3 separate regions of the Homo sapiens genome follow, and all the other regions are linked to region 3. Evidence: promoter capture Hi-C in 16 types of primary human blood cells and fetal thymus (Javierre and others, 2016). All regions are on one chromosome and are shown on one strand. Each heading gives the region's core, a stretch centred on a gene start or on the middle of the fragment in contact. The rest is flanking DNA. Distances are from core to core; before and after follow the strand shown.

The links. The method cuts DNA at HindIII sites, captures the fragments that hold promoters and counts their contacts. A CHiCAGO score of 5 or more calls a contact.
Region 1: a contact is called between the fragment with the promoter of SEC23B here and the fragment with the promoter of AURKA in region 3, in 5 of 17 cell types (fetal thymus, total CD4 T cells, total CD8 T cells and 2 more). The highest score is 12.1, in fetal thymus.
Region 2: the fragment with the promoter of MKKS here is called in contact with the fragment with the promoter of AURKA in region 3 in 3 of 17 cell types (total B cells, total CD8 T cells and non-activated CD4 T cells); the score reaches 15.1 in total B cells.

What each region holds. Positions count from the first base shown.
Region 1 is chr20:18,506,382-18,509,740 of GRCh38, forward strand. It overlaps SEC23B (SEC23 homolog B, COPII component), which reads left to right and starts at 1,559. Exons shown (of 20, transcript NM_006363.6): 1 at 1,559-1,591. RefSeq lists enhancers at 1,100-1,429, 1,780-1,829. The HindIII fragment of the contact is 4,172 bases long and covers 849-3,359 here.
Region 2 is chr20:10,432,137-10,435,494 of GRCh38, forward strand. MKKS (MKKS centrosomal shuttling protein) reads right to left here and starts at 2,086. Exons shown (of 6, transcript NM_170784.3): 1 at 1,972-2,086. SLX4IP (SLX4 interacting protein) reads left to right here and starts at 3,169. Exons shown (of 8, transcript NM_001009608.3): 1 at 3,169-3,317. It overlaps LOC128706665, which reads right to left and starts at 2,086. Exons shown (of 3, transcript NM_001394148.2): 1 at 1,972-2,086. LOC128706666 reads right to left here and starts at 2,086. Exons shown (of 3, transcript NM_001394149.2): 1 at 1,972-2,086. RefSeq lists enhancers at 1,933-1,992, 2,883-3,112, 3,273-3,322. The HindIII fragment of the contact is 4,604 bases long and covers 1-3,184 here.
Region 3 is chr20:56,390,396-56,393,464 of GRCh38, forward strand. AURKA (aurora kinase A) reads right to left here and starts at 1,820. Exons shown (of 9, transcript NM_198437.3): 1 at 1,773-1,820. CSTF1 (cleavage stimulation factor subunit 1) reads left to right here and starts at 2,250. Exons shown (of 6, transcript NM_001324.3): 1 at 2,250-2,318. RefSeq lists an enhancer at 1,966-2,205. The HindIII fragment of the contact is 5,454 bases long and covers 1-2,087 here.

The DNA.
Region 1 (3,359 bases), core at 309-2,808, about 38 Mb before region 3:
ATAATCAAGGCAAATCTTTGGCGAATAATATTAAGTTTTGGTTAAAAAAAATCCCAGCTATGTCTTTTCTCAGTGTTAAGTATTATACATGTGTACATTTTGAGTTTGTTTCCTTACCGAGAATAATTAATCTGAACTTCCTAAATTTATAAAAGTTTACTATTGATAAGCTAATATTAACATTACATTGTTTAAGATCCTGAAAAATGTGAATTTGTTCAACAAAACTGAATCATTCTCACATTTAACAGTAATTGTTTCTTTGTGCCTTAAACTATTAATAATTTCTATGATCTGTAGATAACTTAAAACTTAGTATTAAATTGAGCTAATTAATGGATACTTCTTGGATGCCTAGATATGTTCTTGCATAATTTTATGTTTACATCGTTTTGCTTATTTTTATATGCTACAGAGACTACAACTCTGAGTCACAGTAATGATGTGTTCATGTTTGCCACTTGTCAGCGTGTGTAAAAATGGTTGTGGTGGCTTTATACAGTTGTGTTCTATCGCGCCTTTTGCAGCAACATGGATGCATCTGGAGGCCATGATCCTAAAAGAATTAACGCAGAAGCAGAAAACCAAATACATGTTCTCACTTGAAAGTGGGAGCTAAGCATTGGGCACACATGGACACAAAGGTGACATTAATAGACGCTGGGGACTACTAGAGTGGGGAGGGAGGCAGGGAGGGGCTGAAAAACTTGGGTACTATGCTCAGTATCTGGGTGACCAGCTCATTCGAATTCGAAACCTCATAGCCAGGTAACAAATACGCAGTGTACCCCCTAAATCTAAACGTTGGAATTATTTTTTAAAAGAAAGTTATGTTCCATGTATTTCTAAGCTTACTCTCCTAAAATGGTTGAATATTACAGTTCTCAATTATTTATCTCCATGTAGAAGGATGACAGGGACTGTGCGCTAGTGCCAGCCTCCGCTGAGAGCGCCAAGACATTACAGCAAGCGACGGTAGGAGAGCTTGTAACGTGAAGCACCACCACACCTCTGTACTTCAAACTTAACCACAGAGACCGACTCCCAAACCAGCAAGTGCGTAAGCGCCGCCGCGCTCACCACCCGCCCCGCCCCTTCCGCATGCTAATGCCTTCTTCCGGCAGCCTTAGTTTCTTCCAACCAGTGCAGCTCCCTGTTCCGCGAGCATACGTCATCGTTCTCGCTTTCCGGTAGCTAAGGCGATCAGCGGGACTTCCCACTGAGACGAGCGGATGTCATATTGTATCAGGGCGAACCTCTGAGGAGCGCTGGCTGCGCTTAGGCAACGGTGCGGCAGGCGCCGGGGTTTTCTGAAACAGAAACGTTTAGGGGTGGGGAAACGTGTTCCGAGGAACTCTCGTTTTGAAGTGCGACATACACCTGTCTTGCCCTGTTCCAAGATGGTGGCAGAGCTTCTCTGAGTCTCTCGCTTCCTCCAGTCCGTCGGAGAAGCGCTCTTTGATTGGCCAGTGGACAGCGCCGTGGCATGACGCGCTGGGGCGCTGGCCAATCGGTTGAGAGCTGAGCTGGACTTGGCGGTGGGAGCCGGAGCCTGCTTGTTGCAGCTGTGGGTGAGGACGGCTCTAGCTAGGTGAGCGGCTCCGGCCAGGTGAGCGGGGCGCATAGGTGACGGAGGGCCGAGGGCACGGGTATGAGTTTCTGCCGGGGGCGAGGTGAGCGGCTTCTGGGAGGAGGCCTTTTCTTGACAGTTTAGGGTAGCGGGGGAATGGATGATCCGGGAGTCCCCTGCGGATGTCGTCCCGCACCAGGCCGGGACCGATTTCTGGCTCCAGTTTCCCCAGAATTGCGGAGTGCGCACACCTGGAAGGACCCAAGTCCCGTTTTATAGTTGAGAAACTCAAGACTCAGACAAGTGAAACGACTTTTGCTTCATGACAGCTGGAACTGGAACCCAGGTCCTTGGACTCCCTTCAAGGATTAAACCTCACTTATTCTTACATACACATGGTCACTGTGTCCTGAGAAGTTACGAGTTGGCGCGATAAGGGTGGTTCAGATTTTTTGGCATATTCTCCTGTTATCTTTCCAGGCCTTTCATTCATTCACTAATTCATACTTTCAGTTATTTACCTCTTCAGATACCTTCCCCGATACTTTGGTAAAAGCTATGGACCCATCTCCCTAGAAAAACGGCATATTCCCTCATGCGCATAACTTCAGATGATTAGTGGACCTTCTATAGTCCCCTTGGATTATGTGTCCACTGCTAAGAATCCAGACCCTAGAAGGGTGAGGGAAACAGGCAGTAGGAAAAGGAGGGAGCAGGTCTTAGGCTGTACATGCTTGGAAACCATTAGATGGAGGCAGTAGCTTCTTTTTTTTTTTTTTTTTTTTTGAGATGGAGTCTCGCTCTGTCGCCCAGGCTGGAGTGCAGTGGCGTGATCTCGGCTCACTGCAACCAATGCCTCCCAAGGTCAAGCAGTCCTCCCTGCCGCAGCCTCCCGAGTAGCTGGGATTACAGGCACCTGCCACCACGCCCAGCTAATTTTTGTATTTTTAGTAGAGACGGGGTTTTGCCATGTTGGCCAGGCTGGTCTTGAATTCCTGACCTCAGGTCATCCACCGGCCTCGGTCGCCCAAAGTGCTGGGATTACAGGCGTGAGCCACCGCGCCCGGCCGCCAGTGCCTTTTAATAAAGAACGTTTTGAGAGAGAGACGGTTATTTAATGAAATCTGCTGACATACTTGCTGAGAGTTGTGATAGAACTTGCTTTCATTCCGACTTTAGTTATCCCTTTGCTTCCCATGAAGCTCCAGAGTGCTTCCTGTGCACACAGTGCTTCAGGTTCTTGCCGTTGCCAGAAATAAACAGATTTCTTAGAGTTTCAGTTGGAGCAAACATTGGAATTCTTGTGTTCTGGGCTTTATGTAGTAGAGTAATTCATTTGCTTTTCTAGCCATGCAATATTATTGCCTTAATCAAAATTATTTACAGTATGGTACTTCCCAAAATAACAGACAGTTGTTATCCATATTCAGGAAGTGGGCGCGAGAGGCCACTTTAATTTGATAGACTCTTTAATTTGCCTTTTTACTACTTTTCTTGAGGGGCTTGTTCCCTTGAACCCCAATAGCTGAGTTGTGTGTTACCCTAGATTTTAGGATATGAACAGGATGTATAAATACTCAATGAAGTTGGGATCATCTGGGTTTGAGAGTTTAGCCTGTAGGACAGTTTTACTGACCACAGTCTTCATTTTTTTTTTGAAACAGAGTCTGGCTCTGTCGCCCAGGCTGTGCAATGGCATTGTCTCGCCTCACTGCAATCTCTGCCTCCCGAGTTCAGACGATTCTCCTGCCTCAACCTCCTGAGTAGCTGGGACTATGGGCACGTGCCA
Region 2 (3,358 bases), core at 836-3,335, about 46 Mb before region 3:
TAACGACAGATCAATCAAGGGGTATAAAAGCCTGGCCCTTCTCTTCAACTTTGAAGGGCCAACCCAGCACTAGAGTTCCTGTGGGACTGGTGGAGAACATCCTTGAGACTTCACTGCAGCTTAACTTTTTCTATTGCCCAATCCTGCTTCCTTTCTTCCTTGGTAATCATCCAAAAAGTCTTCTCTAGTAAATGTCCTGCCTCTAAATCTCCTCAGAGTCTGATTCTCAGGAAACCCAACCTAGGACAATCTAGAAACATCTTGCTCAATATCAATGTGCAATCACCCCTCAGTATTTGGGGGATTGCATCCAGGACCCATGATGGATACCCAAATCCAGATGCTCAGGTCCCTGATTTAAAAATTGTGTAGTAGGCCAGACGCCGTGGGTCATGCCTGTAATCCCAGCACTTTGGGATGCCGAGGCGGGTGGATCACCTGAGGTCAGGAGTTCAAGACCAGCCTGGCCAACATGGCGAAACACCATCTCTACTAAAAAATACAAAAATTAGCCAGGTGCAGTGGCGGGTGCCTGTAATCCCAAACTTCTCCGGAGGCTAAGGCAGGGAGAATTGCTTGAACCCGGGAGGCGGAGGTTGCACAGTGAGCAGAGATCCAGCTTCAGCCTGCGCGACAGAGCGAGACTCTTTGTCAAAAAAAAAAAAAAAAAAAAAAAAAATCGTGTAGTTTTGTACACAACTTGCCACCTCCTTCCATGTACCTTAAATAATCTCTAGGCTACTTATAATACCTAATACAACGTTAAATGCTATGTAAGTAGTTGTTACACTGCAGTGTTTAGGGAATGACAAGAAAAAAGGTCTGCACGTGTTCAGTACAGATGTAACCATCTTTTTTCCCCCAGAATGTTTTTATTTATTTATTTTCTTAAATAGAGTCTCTGTCGCCCAACCTGGAGTGCAGTGGCGTGATCTCCGCTCACCGCAACCTCCGCCTCCAGGGCTCAAGCGATTCTCCTGCCTCAACCTCCCAAGTAGCTGGGATTACAGGCGTGCGCCACTGCGCCCGGCTCATTTTTTTGTACTTTTAGCAGAGACCGGGTTTCGCCACGTTGGCCTGGCTGGCCCCAAACTCCTGACTCAAGTGATCCGCCCGCCTCGGGCTCCTAAAGTGCGGGGTTACAGGGGTGAGCCACCAAACCCCGCCGCCCCAAAATATTTTCTATCCGCAGTTGGTTGAATTCACACATGCGGAACTCATGGATAGGGAGCGTATTGTTTCTCCCCCATCACTAGAACATGGAGTCAGGACCGTGCAAGTCCCTCTTGGTCACTGCCGTATCTACTAACTCGGCAGTGCTGTAGACACGTGTATATCTGTTTATGGATAAACTGAAGATGTTAATGAATGAATGAAACCGTCATATTGAGTCTCTGAAACGGCAACAGGATTTGGGTATGGTCTTATCGGGGAGGAAGACGAGCATGACCTTAGAGGGTCATCCCTACAAGGTCCACAGCCCTGCAAGCCCCGCGGCTGCTTTCACGTAGCTGGCAGGGCCACGCTGCACAACGTCTCTAACGCCGTCGGAGGGCGGCCCCCACCTCCCGACAGCCTGGGGTACACCGTGCACCCTCCAGACAGTCAGGGGCACACGGGGCCCCTCCCAGCGAGGGAGGGGACGGGGAGTCACAGGTTCGGCGTAGAAGGCGGCAGCGCAGGTGGGAGCGTGGTGAGGCGCCACTCCTCCAGCTCTCCCCACCGGCGGGAAGACCTCCTCGCCGCCCGCATCCGTGCCGACCGCAACATTTACCATCGGCAGCTATTTCAGAGGTCGGTCTTTCGCCTCCTACAGAGAGCCAGCCTCCTCCTTGTCCCCGCCCTCAAATATCCTTCAGTGAGGACACCGGTGACCTTTGGGGGTGGAGAGGGAGGCGCCTACAAGCCCCTTCCCCTCTCTTCGGCCGGACACAAAGCGGGCTTTTCCACCTAGAGTCCCAGCGCTCTCACCTGCGCACCAGCCGTCGCGCCGCCCCAGGCCGCCACCGCCAGAGGCCCCAGAAACAGATCTCAAGCAGCCGCTGCTGCCGCGGATCCCGACAACCTTCGCGTCGCGCGAGGGCACGGAGCACGCGCAGCTCTGCGGTCGACGCCGGGCCGCCCCCACTCCGCTTCTCCGGGTTTTCCGTGAAGCTCCAGCCAACAGCGGCCGTCACCGGAAAAAACGGGGAGCGAAGTTTATTCAGCGTATATTCCAGCAAATTGTTGAAACTGAAATTTTAAAAGAACGCATAAAATTTAAATAACATATCAAAATGGCACAGCTTCTGCCTTTTGGTGAGCGCTTGACAATGATTTATTGAATGAAAGAAAGAAATAGTCCACTGCGCTCTGCTCTCTGTCCTGACATGACCAATTACAAAGCGCTTGGATTTGTCGCTCAGCGCCAGTATCCCGCCTCTCTGTGCGGTTGTCTGGAAAATCAGGATTTTTACTCTCCCGTAACTCCCGGGATCGGGTTTGGAAAACGGACATGCGCCGTGAGAGCTAGTTGCCTTCTACTAAAGCATCCGCCCTCAGTCCTTCCTGAGGGCTTACAGGGAAGTGCGGAGTTTCGCAGCTCGTACTCTTCACAGATTAGATAATTCACCCGGCATTTCCCCATCCTGCTTCTGGGTTCCAGGACAAAACTTTTATTCTCTTTTAACATTAAAAAACATATAGGAAGTTATGTTCAAACATGGCTATTTTTATTAAAATTTATCCGGCACTGTGAAAGCTACCTTTCCTTTCTCACAATCTTTCGCACCGAATATATGTTCCATTCTTGAGCTAGTCATTTTCCAATGTTAAGAAAACACACCACAGAAAAGCGTTTTTTTTTCTCTCGGTCAGTTCAACTGCCTAGCACCGTGAGTTACCATGATACGTTATTTGCTAATGAGAGTCATTGGGGTCCCAGCCTTTAAAAATAGCCTGCGTCCGGCGCCATTTTTGTTTTGGGCCCACTTTGAAAGCCGCGATATTCTGAACAGAGGCCATTTTTCTTTTGGGCAGATTCCACGGGCCATCGAAGTGTTTCGCTGCCATCTTAAATCCTGGCTGTGGCCTCAATCCTGCAGCGAAGCTGCCCAGATCATTTTGTGTTTGGGCGGCGGCTGAGTTCCCAAACGCGCGCGGAGACCCTGGGAAGGAGGAAGTAAGCGCGAAAGTGCTTCCCTTAAGCTTCTGAAGGTTGGCTGCAGTTCCGGCTACCTGTGTAGTCCGAGTTTCCACAGCCAGGTACTACTCCGCCAGTGACCCTGGACAGTAACAAAACATATAAAGCCCGAGCCCAAACCCCGCCACCATCATAGGTAAGCACATGGACCTCTGACAACCTCAGATGTTCCTTCAA
Region 3 (3,069 bases), core at 570-3,069:
CTCCTGGGTTCAAGCAATTCTCCTGCCTCAGCCTCCAGAGTAGCTGGGATTACAGACATGCACCACCACGCCCAGCTGATTTTGTATTTTTAGTAGAGACAGGGTTTCTCTATGTTGGTAGGGCTGGTCTGGAACTCCCGACCTCAGGTGATCCACCCACCTCGGCCTCCGAAAATGCTGGGATTACGGGCATGAGCCACCGCGCCCGGCCTTCACTGAAGTTTCTTATCAAATATCCCCGCACTCTGGCCTGGGCAATGGAGTGAGACCCTGTCTCAAAAAAAAAAATTAAGATTACCATTTTACAATTAAGCAAATAATTCCATGATGAAGCCAGGCCCAGACTACAGGCTGCAGCCCTTATAAAAAAACAGTGGGTAAGTAAAAGTTGATAAACAGCAACAAGGAAATGCACACTTGTGTTAATCAAATATTTAATTTCACACATGCTCTAATGCTTTACTTCCCTTACAATTCTAAGTAGCAGTCTAATGAGATCACATAGGCCTAACAACATTTATTCAACATTCTTCTGACAGAAGCTACAGGCATTTGCTCCAATTTATTCTACCTTTCTTTCTAGGGAAATTGAATAACAAGCAGAATGGAATAAGATTCTAATCCAGAATTCTGGAGACAACGCCAAGGAGACTGCCCTTCAGGTGACTCTAATCTGCAACCAGATTGAAGAACCAGATGACTTTCACAGGATCCATTCAGTTCAAACCAGAAGTCCTACTATTTTGAATAGAAAAGCTGTTAGGCTAATAGCGCAGGAGGTTTATACGGTTTATTCCTTCCTCCCTCAGACCTGTGCATGTCTGCAGAGATGAAGGGAAGGACGAACTGAGTAGGTTGCTGAAAAACGTTTAATTCAAGGGACAAGGAAGGTTACGGAAGAGGAAGAGACATTACGAGAGTTAAGGACAGTGGCTACGTCTACCTCAGCCGGATGGTTCTTAGAAATGGAGACTCTGAGGCCTAACCCCAGGTCTAAAAAAACAGATTCTGCATTTTAACGTCCCCAGACGATTTGTATGCACCGGTCTGCATCCCTAGTTCTCAATGAAACCTAAGAATCATCTGGAGAGTTTGTTAATAACTAGACACCTGGGTCCTACCCCTCAGAGATTCTGATTTACCGGGCTCTCGGTGGAGCTATATGTTTAACAAGCACTGCAAGTTATCCCGGTACAACTGCTCCAAGGTCTACGGTCTGAGAAGTACGGACCGGGAAGGCCTCTGCAAGGAGGTTCTCATTCATCAATTCACCCACTCATCCAGCCAGGACAAGGGCCTTCTTAGGCTATTCTATCTAAAGCGGCCCCCGTTAAACCGCACTCCTGCTTTTCCTCTGTAACACCCACCCCAGCTGCAAGTTCTCCGTACGCTTACCGTCTGTCTCCCCACCCACTAGAACGTGAACTCCAACACAGCAGAGACCTTCTGTGCTTTTCTTACCCAGGTGATCTCGGAGGACAAAATCCAATCTGAAGCCCACCCACCCCTCCCGCGCATGTCAACACCACTCAACAAACCCCTTGTACCTCTAGCTGTAATAAGTAACAAGCAGTATCCTACAGGGCGCCTCGGTGCCCAGGAGCGGATGCAAAGGCGCTGGGCGGGCACAAGGCAGCGCCAAGGACACTCAGGGACGGAGGAACCGACAGGGGACTTGACGCTCCGCCACTCCGACCAGCCGCCCCTTGTCCCCGCCGTCCTCGTCCGCCACTGAGATATCCCCCACGGTCTACCCACCCGTCGGCTCCCACCTGCGACCCAAGGACCCAAGTCTTCCAAGAGCTCAGCCGTTAGAATTCAAAGGTTCTTCTTTTTAAATAGGAGTTAAACCCTCTAGCTAGAAAGCCGATTGGCCTGCGCTCGAGCGAGGCTGCCTTGTGATTGGTTGACAACAAACCCGACGCCTTGAGTCGCGTTTAAGGGCGCACACCGCGCGCAGGCGCACTTGCTCCCTAAGAACCCGGAAGTGGTGGAGCCAACGGCCAGCCAGACCTGTGGCAGTCCCAGCCCCAGGGTGCTCTCCGCGGTCGGCCATTTATCGGTGAAGCAACAGCCCCTTGACGTCAAGCTTGACGCATTGGAGATAAAGTCCAAGGAGGTGAACTAACCTTTGAACGTGCCAGTAAGTAAGATGGCGAGAAAAGCAAGAGAGAGTGGGACCGATCGATAGCGCAGCGGTCGGCTTGGCGCCCTTTCAGCGTGCGCAGTGAACGTGCGCTCGGAGCGGTAGATTGGGCAGGATTCGCGCCTCCATTTTTCCAGGAGAGAGCGGGATACCAAGAGAACCGGACCAGCTGGTACTGGGACACGGGGAGAGTAGCTGGTGCGGTCGGCTGGGGCATTTAGAGAAAACCACAGAAACGACTGGGGCGAGACTGGAAGAGTCGAGAGTTAGCAAGGTGGCATGCGCCTCTACTTTGCGTTTCCTAAGTTGCCCGGCTTGGCCTGCACCCCTTCCTCTTCTCGAAGGGCCTCGCTTCCATTCCCACCCAGTCCTTAGTTCGCCTCTGCATCCAGATGGTCGCGGCGCATATAGTGAGGGGGCATCTGTGTTCTAGCCTTTCCAACTGCGATGTATCCGGTCCTGGATCGGGTTCTTGTCCTCGTGTGCTCACCTGCAAATTGGGGATAATTAGGCTTCTGTTTACCTGGCGAGTGAACGTTCTGTGGGAGTTGAGAAGTTAGGGGTGGGCCACTTAAAATATATATATATATACACACACACACACATATACATATATATACACACACATATGTGTGTGTGTGTGTGTGTATGTACACCCGGGATGTGCTCAGCAGAAGTGAAGAGACCGGATAGAACAGTGGTGTAGGGGAACCAAAAATGGCTTCCCTCCATCCTTCCAGGTACCTTATTAGGACTAAGAGTTAAATTCACATAAGACGAATTAACAGATTACTGCAGGGTAAACAGGATGTGCATGTAAAGCATTGAGCTAGCATACGGAAATTATTCGAGTCATATTAACCCAACGTTAACAGTAGAATCTCTCATCAACTTTTCTTTGCCAGACTACCCACTTGTGATTT